3 separate regions of the Homo sapiens genome follow, and regions 2 and 3 are each linked to region 1. Evidence: promoter capture Hi-C in 16 types of primary human blood cells and fetal thymus (Javierre and others, 2016). All regions are on one chromosome and are shown on one strand. Each heading gives the region's core, a stretch centred on a gene start or on the middle of the fragment in contact. The rest is flanking DNA. Distances are from core to core; before and after follow the strand shown. Region 1 holds the start of C2CD5 (C2 calcium dependent domain containing 5). Region 2 overlaps RECQL (RecQ like helicase). Region 3 overlaps PYROXD1 (pyridine nucleotide-disulphide oxidoreductase domain 1).

What was found. The method cuts DNA at HindIII sites, captures the fragments that hold promoters and counts their contacts. A CHiCAGO score of 5 or more calls a contact.
Region 2: a fragment that was not itself captured here is called in contact with the fragment with the promoter of C2CD5 in region 1 in 1 of 17 cell types (total B cells); the score reaches 6.2 in total B cells.
Region 3: a contact is called between a fragment that was not itself captured here and the fragment with the promoter of C2CD5 in region 1, in 1 of 17 cell types (non-activated CD4 T cells). The highest score is 7.3, in non-activated CD4 T cells.

What each region holds. Positions count from the first base shown.
Region 1 is chr12:22,543,088-22,546,116 of GRCh38, reverse strand. It overlaps C2CD5 (C2 calcium dependent domain containing 5), which reads left to right and starts at 1,575. Exons shown (of 27, transcript NM_001286176.2): 1 at 1,575-1,797; 2 at 1,938-2,056. The coding sequence starts at 1,967. RefSeq lists enhancers at 1,445-1,674, 2,815-3,029 and a silencer at 1,815-1,934. The HindIII fragment of the contact is 7,848 bases long and covers 1-3,029 here.
Region 2 is chr12:21,481,649-21,485,046 of GRCh38, reverse strand. RECQL (RecQ like helicase) reads left to right here. Exons shown (of 15, transcript NM_002907.4): 6 at 1,473-1,671. Among named protein-coding and RNA genes, the nearest start is that of RECQL, 18 kb to the left of the region's middle. The HindIII fragment of the contact is 2,051 bases long and covers 246-2,296 here.
Region 3 is chr12:21,456,179-21,459,596 of GRCh38, reverse strand. The region is part of intron 7 of PYROXD1 (pyridine nucleotide-disulphide oxidoreductase domain 1); the gene reads right to left. Among named protein-coding and RNA genes, the nearest start is that of PYROXD1, 20 kb to the right of the region's middle. The HindIII fragment of the contact is 2,267 bases long and covers 224-2,490 here.

The DNA of each region.
Region 1 (3,029 bases), core at 326-2,825:
TGGAGTATTTACTCTATTGAGTATTTTCGAAGTTAAAAAGATCATACGGATATCTTCACTTAGGAATGAAATGTTACAATCTTTGAGCCGGCATGAACTCTGATTTTGTTGATACTGGGTATACTGTCAATGCTGATTTTGATATTTGGTAAGGACTGATTTATTTACATCTTGTGTGTGCCTCAATTTCCCTAATATGGTCTGAGCCTGTAGATAACACCTTACTTTATTTATAGTTGGGTCAATTCTTCAAGATGTTTAACGCTCTCCATGTTTATTTCTTGTGGTTGACTATACTTTCCATGGTAGGAAGTCCTGAACTTCTGCTACTACTGTAGGTCTTATCTTTAGGCTTGTGGATGCTTAATAAGAACACTGAGATGATCTAAGAGTGCAGGACATTTAATTAAAAAAAAATTTTTTTTAAGAGACAGAGTTTTGCTCTGTTGCCCAGGTTGGGGTGCAGTGGTGAGATGGCAGCTCACTGCAGCCTCAAACTCCTGGGCTCAAGCAATTCTCCCAGATTCTCCCACCTCAGCTTCCTAGGTAGCTGAGACCACAGACGAGCCACCGGCCCAGCTAATTTTTGCATTTCTTGTAAAGAAGGGGTCTTACTGTGTTGCCTCGTCTCCATGAGGCTGGTCTCGAACTCCTGGACTCAATCGATCCTCCCACCTCAGCCTCCCACAGTGCTGGGATTACAAATCTGAGCCACCACACCTACCAGCAGAAACTTTTTTTCAAGAGGAGACTTTGGATTTCAAGGTGACCTCCCCCACCCCGCCCACAGTAATATCTGTGACCCAGTGCACAACACAAGTGCCTATGACTGAATAAAATATTTCACTAAATATTTATTTCACTATTCGAGATGTGCCTGGTATCTCTATTTCTTTCTTTCTTTTTTTTCTTTTTTTGGAGACAGAGGAGTGATCTCGGCTCACTGCAACCTCCGCCTCGCAGGTTCAAGCGATTTTCCTGCCTCAGCCTCCTGAGTAGCTGGAATTAGAGGCGCTCGCCACGACGCCCAGCTAATTTTTGTATTTTTAGTAGAGACGGGGTTTCGCCATGTTGTCCAGGCTGGTCTTGAACTCCTGACCTCAGGTGATCCGCCCGCCTCGGCCACCCAAAGTGCTGGGATTACAGACGTGAGCCACTGTGCCTGGCCATCTAACTCTATTTCACAGAAAACTGGAACCACCACACGCACCTGTACCCCTTCCAAGTAGAAACCAGCTAATTTGGTTTTACGAATCACTAAAGGCCGACTGAAAACGCTCTTCTAGCAGTCTTCGCTGCTACTCCATCTATCACAGCCCATCCGAAAAGCGGCGGTAGCAGCTGGGAAGGCCGCGGCCGGAGGCTGTCACAGAGCAGCACTCGCGCTTCGGCCCGCAAGATGGAGCGTTTCCCTCCAGGGAAGCAGCGCCGCACCTATCCACAGCCCCCACTCGGTGGATGATGCAGGACTCGGCCCATTTCCCTGCCCTCCAGCTTTCTCAACGTCAGCCCCGCCCCCTTATCTTTCCTCGGCGAGTTTAGTTTCGCCCCGCCAAGTGGGCAGAGCGCCGAACGATCGATGCTTTCTTCCGCGCCCCGAGAGCCGCCATTTTTGAGAGCGGGGGAGGAGAGACAAGCAGGGGCGGCAGAGGCTCAACGGGATGCTGACTGGGTTTTGCTTTTCGTCCCAGCCTTGTGGGGCCGGGACGGAAGAACCCATCAAAGCCCTTCCTCCCGCCGCCTCTCCGGAATGAGGTCTCAGCACCCGCGCGGGACAGCACCCTTCCTCCTGCGACAGTGAGTGGCGACCCGTGGCGCGACTGCCGGGCGCCCGCGCGCGCCCCCGCGCGCTCCTTCGCTGTCAGTTACCCCGCGCGCCTCCGCCCCTCTCCCGCCGGCCCCGCGCTCGGCGCAGACTCGTTTGTTTGTTTCTGCAGGAGCCCAAGAAGAGGCCGAAACCGAGACCATGCCAGGGAAGCTGAAGGTGAAAATCGTGGCCGGGCGCCATTTGCCAGTGATGGACCGTGCTAGTGACCTGACTGATGCCTTCGTGGAGGTTGGTGCAGGGTCCTGCCCCTCAAAACACAGGGAGCGCCAAGCCCTGTGAAGGATCTACCCACCTCGCCCCCAGCCCCTCAGCCTATTCCCCCCTCGACTGCCCTCCCTTCGGCCGTGGTTGTCCAGCTCTCCCACGAGGGATGACCGCCGAGACCTCAGTGTGTGCGATGGGTGCACGGCTTGCAGGCGTCCGCGGCACAGTCCGCTGCGCGGGGAGGCTTGTACTGTTGTGCATGCGGGGGTGACCCTGATGTCAGGACTCATTAACAGGCCACCTGCCACTCAGGAGATCCCAAGGCGTGGCCGCGCAGCCACCGACACACTCACACACATACACACACACACACACAAATGCCGGAATGACTCTGATGTCAGGACTCATTAACAGGCCACCTGCCACTCAGGAGATCCCAAGGTGTGGCCCCGCAGCCACTGAAACACACACACACACAGGCACACACACACCCTTGGAAGGGGTGGCCAGAGTGCTGGACATCATGTTTAAGAAGGTGCATGAAGCCCTTTATGGGCACTTGGAGTCCCACAGTGCGAGGAAATCCACTCTCATGCCTAACATTTTGTGAATCTGCCATGCACGTTCTAAAACACAACTGCAACACTTCCTGCTCTTGTATAGGCTGGTAGGTCTGATGAGGTGTTTCAGGGTAATTTAGCGCCTTGAGGTAGGAAGTCATTTAATTGCCATGGACTTAAATTGCAAAATTGCTTTTTAAGTCTAATGATTAGTTTAAAAGTCATGCAAATTAGTAAAGGCCTACGGCCGGAAGGTAATAACCCAGAGTCTGAAAGAAGCCAAGTAAAGATTGTAATAAAAATTGGCGTGATGAGCCAGAGCATTAGAGCAGCAATCATTTGGGCTATTAGTGCTTAGAATTGATGGATAGATATATCATAATATATAGCTCGATTTCATCTCAATATTCCTGATGTTTCCTAAATGTTCTCTAACC
Region 2 (3,398 bases), core at 22-2,521, 1.1 Mb after region 1:
GATTTCATTAGGGAGGTGCAAAATGGTGATATCTAATTCTGTCACTCTTTCTTCATGTATTAGTTATACTTTTTCTACAAAAATAAACTTTTTCCTCATTAACTCTGCATGATGAAAATGCTTGATTTTTTTTTCCCTTTCTTTATGAGTTTTCAGAAAGAGTTGGTTTTCTAGCATTCTCCAAAGGTGGTCAACAAGATTTTTAAGGTTTTCTTTCCCCAAGTATCACTATAAACTTACAAGCTTTGACGTATAATATGATTCACCTTTGGAATCATATATATATATATATCAATATGTATATATGTAATGCTGAAATAGTCCTGTCCTTGGGCAGTGAGAGCCTCTTTAAGTTGGTTCCTGAATCCTTTCTCTTAACCCCATTGCTTCTGTTCCTTGCTTTCTTTTGCAGTAAGATAATCCATGTTCATTTTATGCATTTCCTGCCCAGACCTAGAGTCAGCCATACCTCTAAGAAGCCCTGGTTCCTTTAGTTTACCCATATATTTTTGTTTTATTTAAACTCCATGTCATTCTATTATAACTGCTCCTTCCTCCAACAAAATCAATCTGTGGAGAAAACTGCCTTCTAATAATGTACTTTCTTAAAATTGAAAAAGAACATAATAGTAATAGAAAGTAATTTAGAAAGTTGCAGATAATTACAAGTTCATGATATATCCCTACTCTTGAAAGTTGGAGAGAGAAAAAAAGAACATCTGTATCCTAGAATATATCTAGGAGTTAACAAACTGCTTCTTTGCTGGGATGATGAAAGTAGTTTGACTGTCTCTTTCTATCTCATTCACTGGCATGTTTTTATACTTTTTTGGTCCTCTTTAGATTAGAAGGAAAAAAAATGACATCTAATATGCTAAGTATTGTATAGAATTGTATGAGTACTAAGAATCTAATAACTGTTACCTTTTAAGATTTATTATTATTATCTTAATTTAATGAGTGATACTTTGTGAAACCCCATGGTCTTTATATTTAAATAAAGAGATTAAAAGATTTGATGGTATCATTTGAGAAGTTAATAAATAATAAATTTTGTTCACATACATAAAGGGATTATAAATATAATGTTAAAATTAATAAAACCCACCTTTATAACCATAACAATTGCATCTAGCTCACATTTTAGAATATATTATGAACAATTTAGGATTATGCCTTCATAGAATAAATGCTCTTCATTGGAGTATCTGTTTGTGTTCTTTTTTGTCAAGTGAGTTTTTTTTAGTCATCAACAATGTAGACGTTAGTAAATAACTAGAATGCTATTTACACAGCTGCCATGATGTTTCGTACTGAGACATGGTTTCAGTTTTAATGAACTAAACATCTGCTCCTAGAAGAGCCAAAGGCTATTATTGCTTTGGAGAAATGAACGTTTTCATTTACCACCTAGTATTTCAGTCTGCTAGCTTAGTTTTACTATCATTGTGTCTATTTTTTTCTTTTAATAGGAGCATGTTAAATGGGTTCATGCTGAAATGGTAAATAAAAACTCCGAGTTAAAGCTGATTTATGTGACTCCAGAGAAAATTGCAAAAAGCAAAATGTTTATGTCAAGACTAGAGAAAGCCTATGAAGCAAGGAGATTTACTCGAATTGCTGTGGATGAAGTTCACTGCTGTAGTCAGTGGGGACATGATTTCAGACCTGGTATGTATGTTTTATCTAGAAAACTTTTTGATGTCATAGACCGTGTCCTTACTCAGCTTGGCATGATGGAAATCTCTGCTTCTATTAAAATCATCCTCAAGTAGTTACACATTGAATATCCGTTATCCAGAATGTTCGGAACCAAAAGGGTTTTAAATTTTGGATTTTTTTGGATTTGGGATGATCAACCTGTATTACTTATTTTATCTTGCCTCATTATGAGGAGGACTGAGAGGCAGAATGTTTAGTTTCATTCCCCACTGTAGTCTGTAGTTTAATTGCCCTTGTCAATTATGGACAAATATGGACACATATGTTTACTAGCCAATAGTGGACATCTTTGTGGCATTTATGACATCTAGGTATTCCTTCACATTTGTTGAAGAATTTGCATCTGTTTCAAAGTTGTCATCTTTAGTCATCATTCTGAGGGTCTTTTCAGCACCCACATACAACTCCTCAGCATGAAACTTTGATGAGATATTTTTAGTGACCTTTTTCTTCACCCCACCACCTAATCCTACAGTCATAGCCTAAAGTAAGTTACTCAGAATTGTTATATGCAAAAAAATCTTAAATTCAAAAATCCGACTCCCTGGCTTCAACCTGTTTTCCTTCTGAAGCTTTTCACACATTAGGATTTGCTGGATCCCTCTTTTAATCCCTGCTTATTTATCCAGGCTCCTGTCCCTACATAGCAATCACTCTGTTTCCCGTCCAGACACTGTGCTGTTGCCCCTTACTTCTGTTATATTTGCCCTGGACTGCCTGGCCATTCTGCCAGTCTGCTTCAGGCGTTGTGCCTGAGATGCTGGATTCATCTAGACTTTGGCTTTCCCCATTCCTGCTGCTTGGCTACTAAACATTGTCAAAAAAACAAAAATTGCATAACTCCATTCAGCTTTTCATTATCCTCAGCCGTCCTTATACTTGTCCCTATTTCAACTCCTTTATACATTTCTTCCAACAAATGTCTCCTATCATTAACTTTCTATTCAGGCCCTAACTTGTACTTAGCAGATGCTTTCTGCTTCACAGAAAATAGATGCCATCAGGTATGAACAGCTCCTCTTTCTACTTTCAAACATTAGTAATCTTTTTTTTTTTTCTTTTGTTAAGGCAGAAAAGACCACTGCTTTATAAGGCTAACCATGACCACTCCCGTTTCATCCTTTCCTGCCTTCTTAAGATCTTGCACTGCCAAATTCCTCACTCCTTCACCTTCAGGCTCTTTTGTCCTCTCCCTAAAAACAGAAACTAAAACACCCTTCTGACCTTTTAATGTTACTGTCCTCTTTCTGTTCTTTCTGTCACCATCAGACTTCTCAGCTTACCATCTCCATTTTTCACCTTTAACCCATTCTGAACTCATTGAATCATGCTTCTGCCACCACCATACTACTGAAACAGGTCATCGGTGACCCACCCCCAGATGAGACCACTTCATCAAGTGGTCTCATCTTCATTCCTCTTCCCACTTCACTTCAGTAACATTTTATATATTCACCTCTCACCTTGCCACATTCTACTCCCTTGGTTACTGTACAGCAGTGCTGTTCAGTGTCTTCCCTTCCATTCTCACCTCCTTCGCTCTTCCTGTCTTCTTTTTAAATATTAGTGTTCCCTAGGGTTCTGACCTCAGTCTTTACCCTTTCTTACGTTTCTCCAGGGATAGTGAGCTTGTAGCCCGAAGACTGCATTCTCTACCTACAGAATTATTATGGGCA
Region 3 (3,418 bases), core at 108-2,607, 1.1 Mb after region 1:
ACCAATTGCATGCCCCGGGTGTTTTACCAGTTGGTCTGACTAACCAACCATAAATCAAGGGGCTCCCACGAGCCCCTTTCTTAGGTTCAATTAATTTATTAGAATATCTCACAGAATTTGGGGAAACACTTTACTTACATTTACTGGTTTATTATCAAGGATGTCACGAAGAAACAGATGAAGAAATACATAAGGCAAAGCATATAAGAAGGGGCATGAAGCTTCTATGCCCTCTCCAGATAGACCACCCTCTAGCAACTTCCACATGTTCAGCTATCCAGAAGCTCTCCAAACCCAGTCCTTTTGGGTTTTCATGGAAACTGTGTTATGTAGGTGACTGATTAAATTACTGGCTGCTAGTGATTGGCTTAACCTTCAACCTCTTTCCCTTCCTGTAGGTTGGAAAGTCTAAACTCTAATCATGTCTTGGTCTTTCCTGTGACCAGTCCCCATTCTGAAGCCACCTAGGGGCTAACCAGTCAACTCGTTAGCATACAAAAGGACACATCACTTTGGAGATGCCAAAAATTTTAGGAGTTGTGTGCCAGAAAACTGCAGACACAACATTTTATTGTGCTTCACTACTGTTTTGCAGATAGTGTGTTTTTTACAAATTGAAGGTTTGTGACAAACCCACATCAAGCAAGTCTTATCAGTGCCATTTTTCCAATAGCATGTGCTCACTTTGTGTCTCTGTCACATTTTGGTAATTCTTGCAATATTTCAGTTTTCATCATTATTAGATCTTTTATGGTGATCTGTGATTAGTAATCTTTGATGTACTACTGTAATTGTCTTGGGGTGTCATGAACCACACCCATCTAACACAGTGAACTTAATCGATAAATGTTCTGTGTTCTGACTGCTCCATCAACCAGCTGTTGTCCTATGTCTCTCCCTCTCCTTGGGCCTCCTTATTCCCGGAGACACAAGAATATTGAAACCAGGGCAATCAGTTACTCTGTAGTGGCCTCTAAGTGTTCAAGTGAAAGTAAGGATCACACATCTCTCACTTTAAATCAAAAGGTAGCAATGATTATTAGGGTTATTGAGGAAGGCACATGGAAAGCCAGGCCTCTTGCCCTGAACAGATGGCCAAATTGTGAATGCAAAGGAAACATTCTTGAAGTAAATCTAAAGTGGTATTCCAATGAACACATGAATGATGAGAAAGCGAAACAGTCTTCTTGCTGACATGGAGAAAGTTTTAGTGGTGTGGAGAGAAGATCAAATCAGCCACAACATTCCCTTAGGCCAAAGCCTAACCCAGAGTAAGCCCCTAACTGTTTTCAATTCTGTAAAGGCTGAGAGAAGTGAGGAAGCTGCAGAAGAAAAGGCTGAAGCTAGTAGAGGTTGGTTCATGATGTTTAAGTAAAGAAGCCATCTCTACAACAAAAATATACAATTGATAACTGATGAATGTGGCTACACTAAACAGTAGATTTTCAGTGTACATGAAACAGCCTTCCAGTGGAAAAAGATGCTATCTAGGACCTTCACAACTATAGAGGAGAAGTCAATGCCTGGCTTCAAAGGACAGGCAGACTCTCCTGTTAGGGGATAATGTAACTGGTGACTTGAAGTTGAAGCCAATGCCTATTTACCACTGTGAAAGTTCTAGGGCCCTTAAGAACTATACTACATCTACCCTGCCTGTCCTCTGTAAATGGAACAACAAAGCCTGGATGACAGCATTATATGGTTTGGGCCTGGTTCTCCACCCAAATCTCATATCAAATTGTAATCCCCAATGTTGGAGGTACGGCCTGGTGGGAGGTGACTGGATCATGGGGACAGTTTCTAATAGTTTAGCACCATCCTTAGTGCTGTTTTCATGTTAGAGTTCTCATGAGATCTGGTTGTTTAAAGGTGTGTGGCACCAGCCCCCTTCTCTCTCTTCCTCTTGCTCTGGCCATGTAAGAAGTGCATAATTCCCCTTCCCCCGTGATTGAAAGTTTCCTGAGGCCTCCCCAGTCATGCTTCCTGTACAGCCCGTGGGACCATGAGCCAATTAAACCTCTTTTCTTTATAAATATTACCTACTCTCAGGTATTTCTTTATATACTGTGAGAATGGAGTAATACACAGCACATCTGTTTACATAGTTTACTGAATATTTGAAGCCCACCATTGAGACCTACTGCTCAGAAAAAAAAAAAAAAAGATTCATTTCAAAATACTACACTCATTGACAAGGCATTTGGTCACCCAAGAACTCAGACAGAGATGCACAAGGAGATGAATGTTGTTTTCATGCCTGCTAATACAATATCCATTCTGCAGCCCATGGATCCAGGAGTAATTCTTACTTTCAAGTCTTATTAAAGAAATGCATTTCATAAGGCTATAGCTGCCACAGATAGTGATGCATCTGATGGATCTGGGAAAAGTACATTGAAAACCTTCTGGAAAGAATTCACCATTCTAGATGTTATTAAGAACATTCATGATTCAAGGGAGTAAGTCAAAATATCAACATTAACAAAAGCTTGAAAGAAGTTTACTCCAACCTTCATGGATGACTTTGAGGGATTCAAGATTTCAATGGAGAAAGGCAGATATGGTGGAAATAACAAAAGAACTGTAATTAGAAATGAATCCTGAAGATGAGACTACATTGCTGCAATCTCATGATAAAATTTGAAAAGATGAGTTGTTGTTTCTCATGGATGAGCAAAGAACGTAGTTATCTGAGATGGAGTTTACTTCTGGTGAGGATGCTGTGAGTATTGCTGAAATGATGAAGGATTTAAAATATTACATATACTTGGTAAAGCAGTAGCAGAGTTTGAGAGAATTGACTTTTGAAAGAACTTCTACTCTGGGCAAAATGCTATAAAACAGCTTCGCACGCTACAGAGAAGTCTTTCACGAGAGGAAGAGTCAATTGATGGGGCAAACTTGTTATTTTAAGAAATTGCCACAGCCACCCAAACCTTCAGCAAGCACCACCCTGATGAGTCATCAGCCACCAATACCGAGGCAAAACTTTCCACCAAAAAAAGATTATGATTTGCTGAAGGCTCAGATGATTGTTAGCATATTAAGCAATAAAGTATCTTTAAATTAACGTTATGTGCATTGTATTTTTAGACACAATGCTAATGCACATTTAATAGACTGCAGTATGTTATAAACATAACTTTTGCAGGCACTGGGAAACTGAAAAATTCGTGTGGCTCACTTTATTGTGGTATATCATTTCCTGTGATGGTCTGGGACTGAACCTGCAATACTCCAAGGTATGACTGTATATATATTACAGTATCACACCTCAAGAGTTAAAACGTAGGCTGAGATCCAGTCTTCGATGCTTTGACATTCAGTTTTCTTTGGTGGCCAAATGGACCAACTGCATTGGAGGTCTTTTCCTAACACTATGGATTTTAAGTAAAGTGACCTAACAGTTCGTTGACTA